2 separate regions of the Homo sapiens genome follow, and region 2 is linked to region 1. Evidence: promoter capture Hi-C in 16 types of primary human blood cells and fetal thymus (Javierre and others, 2016). All regions are on one chromosome and are shown on one strand. Each heading gives the region's core, a stretch centred on a gene start or on the middle of the fragment in contact. The rest is flanking DNA. Distances are from core to core; before and after follow the strand shown. Region 1 holds the start of TAF1C (TATA-box binding protein associated factor, RNA polymerase I subunit C). Region 2 overlaps MBTPS1 (membrane bound transcription factor peptidase, site 1).

Region 1 (4,796 bases), core at 902-3,401:
ATAGGCGTTTTACAAGGGTAATGTAGAATATTAGTGTGGTAGGCAAAATAATGGTTCCCCCAAAGATGTCTACAGCCTAATCCCCAGAACCTATGAGTATATTATTTGGCAAGGGGGCATTAAGGTTGCAGGTGGAAGTAAGGTTGCTAATCAGCTGCCTTTAAAATAGGGCTCTCACCTGTAACCCCAGCACTTTGGGAGGCCCAGGTGGGAAGGTAGCTTGAGCCCAGGAGTTAGAGACCAACTTGGGCAACATGATGAAATCCCATCTCTACAAAAACTACAAAAATTAGGCCGGGCGTGGTGGCTCATGCCTGTAATCCCAGCACTTTGGGAGGCCAAGGCGGGTGGATCACATGGTCAGGAGTTCAAGACCAGCCTGGCCAATATGGTGAAACCCCGTCCCTACTACAAATACAAAAATTAGCTGGGTGTGGTGGCAGGCACCTGTAGTCTCAGCTACTCGGGAGGCTGAGGCAGGAAAATCGTTTGAACCTGGAAGGTGGAGGTTGTAGTGAGCCAAGATCACGCCACTGCACTCCAGCCTGGGTGACAGAGTGAAACTCTGTCTCAAAATAAAAAAAAAAAAAGAAAATTAGCCAGGCATGGTGGTGCTTGCATGTAATCCCAGCTACTCGAGAGACTGAGGTGGGAGAATCATCTCAGCCTGGGAAGTTGAGGCTGCAATGAGCCATGATGGTACCACTGCACCCTAGCCTGGGCGACAGAGTGAGACCCTGTCTCAAAAAAATAAATAAAACAAATAAAATAGGGAGATTATCCTGGATTACCTGGGCGGGCCTACTATAATCACATGGGTCCTTACATGGGAAAGAGGGAGACAGAAGAGTAAAAACCAGAGAGATGGCCTCATGAGAAGAATCCGACTGGCATTGCTGGCTTTGAAGATGGAAAGGGGTCATGAGCCAAGGAATGCAGGCAGCTTCCAGAAGCCAGAAAAGACAAGATAGTGGACTCTTCCTTAGAGCCTCTCAAAAGGAACACAGCCCTGCTGGCACTTTTAGTCCAGGTAAAAACTTCCAGATAAAAACAATATAGGCCAGGCGTGGTGGCTCATCCTGTAATCCCAGCAATTTGGGAGGCCTAGGCAGGCGGATCACTTGAGGTCAGGAGTTCAAGACTCAGCCTGACCAACATGGTGAAACCCCGTCTCTACTAAAAATACAAAAATTAGCCGGGCATGGTGGCGCAGGCCTGTAATCCCAGCTACTCGGGAGGCTGAGGCAGAAGAATTGCTTGAACCCAAGAGGCGGAGGTTGCAGTGTGCCAAGATCGTGCCACTGCACTCTAGCCTCCATCTCAAAAAAATAAATAAAGACATAGATGACAGCTGAGAATTTGGAAATTGATTCTTTAAAGCAACGGTTCTCAAAGTATGGCCCCTGGACCAGCATCATCTGGGAACTTGCTAGAAATGCAGACTCTTGGGCCACATCCCAGATCTACTGAATCAGCAACTCGGGGGGCAGAGGTAGGGTGGAGCCTAGCAAACTTGTAACAAGCCCCCCAGGTGGTTCTAAGGCTCACTGAAGTTTGAGAAGTACTATGTTAGGATAACGGTAAGGTTCATGACTGGACAGTGGTTCTTAAAGCATGGCCCCCAGATAAGCAGTTTCAGCATCACCTGGGAACTTAGGCAAATCATCAGGTCCCACCCCAGACTCACCGAATTGGAGACTGTGTTTTAACTAGCCCCCCAGGTGCTACTGCTGACGCACGCTAGCTAGAGTTTGAAGACCACTGCCTAAAGCTCTCCCTGCCTGACCACCCCTGGAAAAGCTTCACTCTTAGTAGGTATTTGTACCCTTATTTGTAAAGCCCGCTTCTTGGGATTTAAGGACAATCAGTAGGATACCTACTGACCAATACAGGTCTGGCTTATAGTAGGTGTTCTGTGGGAGTTCGTTAAATGATTAATTTAATACAACTCTGAGGAAATTGGTGAAGTAGATGTGGGATTCGAACCTAAGTCCACCCGGCCTCCACTATTGGGACTCAAGGGAGCTTTATTTCCGCTGCCCACGCGCCGCCTGCACGCCCGTTCCCTCTCCTCCCGGGAGGGGGCGCGCCAGGACCCTAAGAGGCCTGGCTGGGAGGCGGGACTTCCTGCCTCCGCAGGAGGCACTTCCGGTCCAAACCGGAAGACCGTGGGTAGCTGCGGCGGGGCTGACCCGTCCCGAGTGCCAAAGCTGGGGTTCTACTTGAGATTTCCCTCGTGGTGCCAGGGTCCGGCGAGCATCACGCCGAGGCCCATTTTCCAGACGACCACGACGAGGCCGGGGTCACGTAAGTGCACGCATGCGCCCCCTCCGCGCGGACTGCGCGTGTTCGAGGAGCGGACCCGCAGATGTAGGAGGGGAGGGACGCCCCCAATCCCCAGTCCCCGCGGCAGGCTCACGTTTCGCAGTCCCCGGCCTGTCGTTATTGCGGATCCGACTGAGTTCTGTAGCCTTGGAGGTCTAAAGGGTCCTGGAGAGCCCGCAGCGAGGGCGGGAAGCCGGCCGGGGAAGTCGAGGCTGCCTTGTCTGAGGGCTTTTGTGGGGTCGTGCTCTCCACCAGCGCCCTCCGCCTGTCTAGGATCGTTTCAGGCTATGCGGTTCCAAGAGAAAATATTTTTGTTTCTATTTTATTTTTGAGATAGAACCTTGCTCTGTCACCCAGGCTGGAGTGCTGTGGCATGATCTTGGCTCACTGCAACCTCTGCCTCCCAGATTCAAGCGATTTTCGTGCCCAGCCTCCTCGGTAGTTGCGATTACAGGTGTACACCACCACGCCCGGCTAATTTTTGTATTTTTAGTATTGACAGGGTTTCACTGTATTGGCCGGACTGGTCTCAAACTTCTGGCCTCAGGTGATCCGCCCGCCTTGGCCTCCCAAAGTGCTGGGATTGCAGGCGGGAGCCACCGCACCCGGCCAAAGGGAAAAGATTTTTGTATAGCGAGACTCTAATGCTAGCGTTTGCATTTCGGTGCATGCGAGAGCACTGGTTCGGAGCTCTGCCTCTGAATCGGATGGGAATCAAGTCTTGGCTGTGGCAGCTAAGAGCTGTTGGACTAAAGTTCTTGCTGAGCCTTCGTTTCCTGAACTCTGTTAACAGGGACGGCGATAGAAGAGTGCAGCATTTAGCATGTGCCTGGCAGATAGATGCTGGCGCTTGGTCAGCGAGCGCTGCTGTTATTTTTGCCCCTGTTATTTTTGTTAATTAAAAAGGAGGGATGCTATGGCTGCTCATACTTCTAGAGGACTGTATTTACCAAAGCCTTGTGATGTAATTTTTTTTTTTCTTGAGATGGAGTTTCGCTCTTGTTGCCCAGGCTACAGTGCAATGGCGCGATCTCAGCTCACCGCAACCTCCGCCTCCCGGCTTCAAGGAATTCTCCTGCCTCAGCCTCCCGAGTAGCTGGGATTACAGGCATGCGTCACCACGCCCGGCTAATTTTGTATTTTTAGTAGAGACCGGGTTTCTCCACATTGGTCAGGCCAGTCTCGAACTCCCGACCTCAGGTGATCCGCCTGCCTCGGCCTCCCAAAGTACTAGGATTACCGGCGTGAGCCACCGCGCCCGGCCCCTTGTGATAGAAATTTATTTTTTTCAACCCCTAGTGCATTTTCTGGGAGGCACTGTGCTTGACAGTAGGAAGACGATGCTCAGATGCAGTCCCTGGCTGTGGAGTAACTTGAGCGTCTTGGGGGTGTAGTCTGTAAATGTATGATGACGGTACTTACGAGCCGGGAGAGAGGCTGCCCCTTGCCGTCTTTCTGACTCCATCTCCACCGCTCTCCACCTCGCTCACTCTGGCTGCCTCATTTTCTCACACACTTCACTGCTCTAGGATTTTCACAGTTGTTGACCGTTCGGCCTGGAACCCTCTTCCCAGTTGCGTACATGGTTCTCTCCTTCACTAGGTTCAGGCTGTGCTCAAACGCCACCTTCTCAACGAGGCTTTTCCTGGCTGGCTTTGCTGAAACCACGCCCTCAGCCCACTACCAGATCCCCTTCTCCTGGACGGGTGGTTGGCTTTAATACAGTTCTCACTACTGCTTGGCCTTGGGCTACATATTTGTTTTTTGTTATCTGCTTCCTCAAAGAACATATGCTTCCCGTAGTGCACTTTTCACTCCTCAGGAACTCTGGCGCCCCTTACCAGCTTCCAGTCTCTCGAGGTGGCCAGTGTGGTGCTTGGTCCTTGTTTCCAGGATGGACTTCCCCAGCTCCCTCCGCCCTGCATTGTTTCTGACCGGCCCCCTTGGTCTGAGCGACGTCCCTGACCTCTCTTTCATGTGCAGCTGGCGAGACGCACTGACTCTGCCAGAGGCCCAGCCCCAGAACTCAGAGGTGAGGATGCAGGCAGGGGGCCCTGGCAGCTCCAGGGACATCCCTTCCCTGGGTCCCCCGTCTCACATTCACATCAGTTGACAAGGCCACAGAGTGGTGGCATTCACACGAGTCTGCTGAGACACAGGCTCTGCCACCTCCTCTGGGGTACATGGGCTACCCTGCCATCCCTAGACGGATGCCCCCACTATGCCGGGTCCCTTATGAGACCGTGAGAATGCTGCCTGAATCAGTCGGTTGACCCCTCCCTTCCTGGAACGGAGAGCTGAGTTGAGCGAGAATAAACAAGTGAACTTTATCCAATGGATAAGGTGTTTACAAAATGTGATCAGAGCTTGGAATGAAAGCAGAAGGATGCTGAAACAGCATAGTAGGGTTGGGAGAGGGGAGGATAGACCTGCAGGGTTTCTGCTGCCTCTGGAGGGACACTGGCCCTTTG
Region 2 (4,850 bases), core at 1,071-3,570, 85 kb after region 1:
AGGGTGGCTTTAGGTGCCCTCTGCTTTTCTGATCTTTCTGTTTGGCTCTTTGTTTTTGCTCTTGCAGTTGGCATTGTTATTGTTGTTCTTGTCGAGGTGGATGTAACTGCTTTAAACTTTGACTCATTTCTGATGAGTTCCACGCCCCTTAGTTGCCAGTGCCAGTGCCAGAGATGGGCTTGTTTTTCAGGATCAGTTGTTAGTACAGCAGTGAAAGTCCCTCTTTAGTAAAAGTAAAAACGTTTTTTGGATATTTTAACCCCTCACGGTACTTTATCAATGTTTTTCTACTCGTAGAAGCACATATTGATATTTCCAGAAACCAAAAACTCAGAAGCACCAGTTTCTGCCAGAAGAATGAGTTTTACAGCTTGAAGTACCTTTTGTAATAGATGACTTAACTCCTTGTCCTTAATGTTTTCTTTTTAAAAACAAGTAGTGGGCGGACATGGCGGCTCTTGTCTGTAATCTCAACACTTTGGGAGGCCAAGGTGGCTGGATCACCTGAGTTTGAGACCAGCCTGGACAAAATGCCGAGACTGCTTCTCTATATTAAAATCCAAAAATTAGCTGGGTGTGGTGATGCATGCCTATAGTCCCAGCTACTCGGGAGGCTGAGGCTGGAGGATTGCTTGAGCCCAGGAAGTTGAGGCTGCAGTGAACTGTGCAGAGATTGCGCCACCCACTCCAGCCTGGGTGTCAGAGTGAGACCCTTCCTCAAAAAAAAAAAAAAAATAATAATAATAATAAAATCCTAAGTAGCACTGGAAGGCCTCTCTTGCTTCATTTACCCATCCCCTACCCTGCTGGATTATTTACGCCCCGGGTATGGTCTGTGCAACTGTTTTTCTGGTTATGCTACAGCCAGCATTGTTCTTTACTATCGCTCTGTTTTCATTGTGAAGAATGGCAGTTTTTCTTACAATTCAGATGTTTTGGAAGATATCTGTGCGCATGCTTAATTTAATATTCAGGTGACATTTTTCTTTAGCAGTAGTTTCCCTCACAAACTGTCTTCTCATGTCACTCCAGTAAAGAGATAATCTGGTTTTATAACACATTTAGCAGGTTACATTTCTTTAAGTGTGAGGTTTCAGGTAAAATAAATTTCAGGACAGTAAACCCTTTTATGCTCTTTTCATAGAATTGGTAGAAAATATTTCAAACTATGTAATATTAAAGCATAGTGTTTCTTAAAGAAGGTGTTAAATATCACTGATAGGGAAATTACTTTGCTGTTAGGTATTAATGTTACAGCAGAAAGTAAGGCTTTATACCAAGCTTTTGCCTGAAAAATTGATGAAATTTGTGGGAAGTAAAAGTGCCAACTGGGGAAATGCTCTGGGGATTGAGTTGCAAATGATAGGAAATACAGAATCTGAAACAGAACAAAGGATCATCCTGATGCCTTCTTCTCTTTGGCTGCTAGAATGCTCAGGTCCAGTGTGCTTAATATTTTTGGTGTTATTTTGTTGTCCTTACTTTTTTCCATTTTTCTCATTGATTTTATTGTTTTATTTTTGAAGATGCCTAAAAAAAATTTTCCCGTGAAAGCAGTGAGTAATAAGTAAATAAAAATGAAATAATATGTTTCATGGTTGTATGGCACATTAATTTGTCTTAAAACCAGGATATCTCTTTTACCCTCTTATTTATTTTATTATTTTATTATTTTAGACATAGGGTCTCACTTTGTTGCTCAGGCTGGACTCAGACTCCTGGGCTCAAGTGATCTTCCCACCTCAGCCTCCCAAGCAGCTGATCTACAGGCACCTGCCACCTTGCCTGGCTGACCCACTTGCTTAAATTATAAATACAACTAAATCATACCTGGCTATGTCAGTTTGCTACTAATGTCTGTGTGCACTGTTTTTTGTTTCATAGATTGGCTCACAGTGGTTGATTGATCAACCCCATTGGACGTTGGTTCTGTGGTACAAATGGAGTACAGGACTCAGTCGTCACGGCCTGAGTGAGAGAAGCCTTATTTCCAAGATGGAGAAGAAGCGGAGAAAGAAATGAAAGCCTCTCTTCAGGCTGAACCACAAAAGGCCATGGGATTTAACTTTTATTTATGTTGGGCAAGACTGTAAGATGGCTGATTAGTAATGTTGCAGCTTTTAGCTGAAACAAAAATTCACTTTTAATCAAGAAGAAAAAAGTGTGATTTGAATATATGCAATTTTATGATCATATTCGCTTGTGACCATGAAGCTTGTCAACATCTGGCTGCTTCTGCTCGTGGTTTTGCTCTGTGGGAAGAAACATCTGGGCGACAGACTGGAAAAGAAATCTTTTGAAAAGGCCCCATGCCCTGGCTGTTCCCACCTGACTTTGAAGGTGGAATTCTCATCAACAGTTGTGGAATATGGTAATGATGTTGTCTTAAGTATTAGGAACTCCCATCCTATTTTTTTAAAGCTTACTTAATATAAAATTAGCTATTGCTGAATAACATGTTCCTCTTTTCTACAGTAAATTTCTTTCTTTTTTTTTTTTTTGAGACAGAGTCTCACTCTGTCACCCAGGCTGGAGTGCAGTGGCATGATCTCGGCTCACTGTAACCTCCACCTCCTGGATTCAAGCAATTCTCATGCCTCAGCCTCCCAAGTAGCTGGGATTATAGGTGACTGCCACCGTCCCTGGCTAATTTTTTGTTTTGATTTGTTCTGTTTTGTTTTGTTTTGTTTTTGAGATGGAGTCTCACTCTGTTGCTGAGGCTGGAGTGCAATGGCACGATCTCGGTTCACTGCAACTTCCACCTCCCAGGTTCAAGCAGTTCTCCTGCCTCAGCCTCCTGAGCAGCTGGGACTACAGGCACCCGCCACAACTCCCAGTTAATTTTTTCTATTTTTAGTAGAGATGGGGTTTCACCACATTGGCCAGGCTGGTCTCGAGCTCCTGACCTCGTGATCCGCCTGCCTTGGCCTCCCAGAGTGTTGGGACTACAGGCATGAACTATCGTGCCAGGCCTTTTTTTTTTTTTTTTTTTGTATTTTTAGTAGAGACGGGGTTTCAGCATGTTAGCCAGGCTGGTCTTGAACTCCTGACCTCAAGTGATCACCCTCCTTGGCCTCCCAAAGTGCTGGGATTACAGGCATGAGCCACCGTGCCTGGCCTTCTGTAGTAAATTTCCAATGGGTTGAGTGCACAGCACATGAATGTTAACTTTGCTTAAGTTTGTTTTCCCAGTAGAGTAAGCTTATATGATAAAAGGAAATTGACATGAATTATTTACCTACACCTTCTTTTCTTTTTCTTTTGGAGACAGAGTTTTGCTCTTGTCGCCCAGGCTGGAGTGCAGTGGTGCCATCTCAGCTCATTGCAGCCTTGGCCTCCCAGGCACAAGTGGTCTCCCACTTCAGCCTCCTGAGTAGCTGGGACTACAGGCACCTGCCACCGTGCCCAGCTAATTTTTTTATTTTTGTTTTTTCTTTTTTCTTTTTTGAGATGGAGATTCACTCTTGTTGCCCAGGCTGGAGTGCAATGGCACCATCTCAGCTCACCGCAACCTCCACCTCCCAGGTTCAAGCGATTCTCCTGCCTCAGCCTCCCGAGTAGCTGGGATTACAGGCATGTGCCACCATGCCCGGCTAATTTTGTCTTTTTAGTAGAGACTGCGTTTCTCCATGTTGGTCAGGCTGGTCTTGCACTCTTGACCTCAGGTGATCCTCCTGCATTGGCCTCCCAAAGTGTTGGGATTACAGGCATGAGCCACTGTGCCCGGCCTGCCCAGCTAATTTTTTTATTTTTTGTTTCACCATGTTGCCCAGGCTGGTCTTAAACTCCTGAGCTCAAGCAATCCATCCACTTCGACCTCCCAGAATGCTGGGATTATAGGCATGAGCCACTGTGCCCAGCCTACACCTTGATTCTTTGGAACAGGTGCCATTGTAATTGGTGAAGGTGGGGAGCTGGGAGGTGCAGAATGTTTATGTTCTAAAGTTTGAGTGACCAGATGTGAAGAACTGAGCAAATAGTCTCACATAATCCACTCTGGAATTTTGTTACTGTTTTCGTTTTAAGAAACACTAACTGAGCATTCAGTTCTCTGAATTTCTTTTTCCTACTTGATAAAAATTATATACATTTCTTTGTTGTGTATTCAAACTTCTGTAGGTATTTGCTTTTTAAAAAAATATCACGGGTATCTGGTTTCGAATGATGTATTCTTTGTGGTTAGGTGATTCATAGAGATCTTTTTTTTTTTTTTTTTGAGACGGAGGCTTGCTCTGTCACCAGGCAGGAGTGCAGTGGTGCAATCTCTGCTTACTGCAATCTCCGCCTCCCAGGTTCAAGTGATTCTCCTGCCTTAGCCTCCCAGGATTATAGGCGCCCACCACCACACCCAGCTAATTTTTTGTATTTTTAGTAGAGATGGGGTTTCACTATGTTGGCCAGGCTGGTCTCAAACTCCTCACCTCGTAATCTGCCCACGTCAGCCTCCCAAAGTGCTGGGATTACAGGCGTGAGCCACCGCGCCCAGCCCCATATAGATCATTTTTCCTCAAAGCTCTGCAGACAGCTGTCTAGGTACTTAAACTAGTCTTTGTGTTTTCTCTCGTCTGCTGTGGGCTTTAAGATAATTTTTCTTTTGCCAGATTTTAGATTAGATACAATATAGTATATGTTATAATGTATGTGCGTAAATCTTATTTTTGTTTGTGGTGATTGGTTTCAGAATATATTGTGGCTTTCAATGGATACTTTACAGCCAAAGCTAGAAATTCATTTATTTCAAGTGCCCTGAAGAGCAGTGAAGTAGACAATTGGAGAATTATACCTCGAAACAATCCATCCAGTGACTACCCTAGTGATTTTGAGGTGATTCAGATAAAAGAAAAACAGAA

Evidence for each region. Contacts are between HindIII fragments. The CHiCAGO score rates a contact against its expected background, and 5 or more counts as called.
Region 2: a fragment that was not itself captured here is called in contact with the fragment with the promoter of TAF1C in region 1 in 2 of 17 cell types (total CD8 T cells and naive CD8 T cells); the score reaches 5.3 in total CD8 T cells.

Annotation. Positions count from the first base shown.
Region 1 is chr16:84,184,412-84,189,207 of GRCh38, reverse strand. It overlaps TAF1C (TATA-box binding protein associated factor, RNA polymerase I subunit C), which reads left to right and starts at 2,151. Exons shown (of 15, transcript NM_001243156.2): 1 at 2,151-2,307; 2 at 4,148-4,357. The coding sequence starts at 4,220. RefSeq lists a silencer at 1,956-2,165 and an enhancer at 1,811-2,311. The HindIII fragment of the contact is 17,434 bases long and covers 1,803-4,796 here.
Region 2 is chr16:84,099,142-84,103,991 of GRCh38, reverse strand. It overlaps MBTPS1 (membrane bound transcription factor peptidase, site 1), which reads left to right. Exons shown (of 23, transcript NM_003791.4): 2 at 1,885-2,371; 3 at 4,682-4,850. The coding sequence starts at 2,209. Among named protein-coding and RNA genes, the nearest start is that of MBTPS1, 15 kb to the left of the region's middle. The HindIII fragment of the contact is 207 bases long and covers 2,217-2,423 here.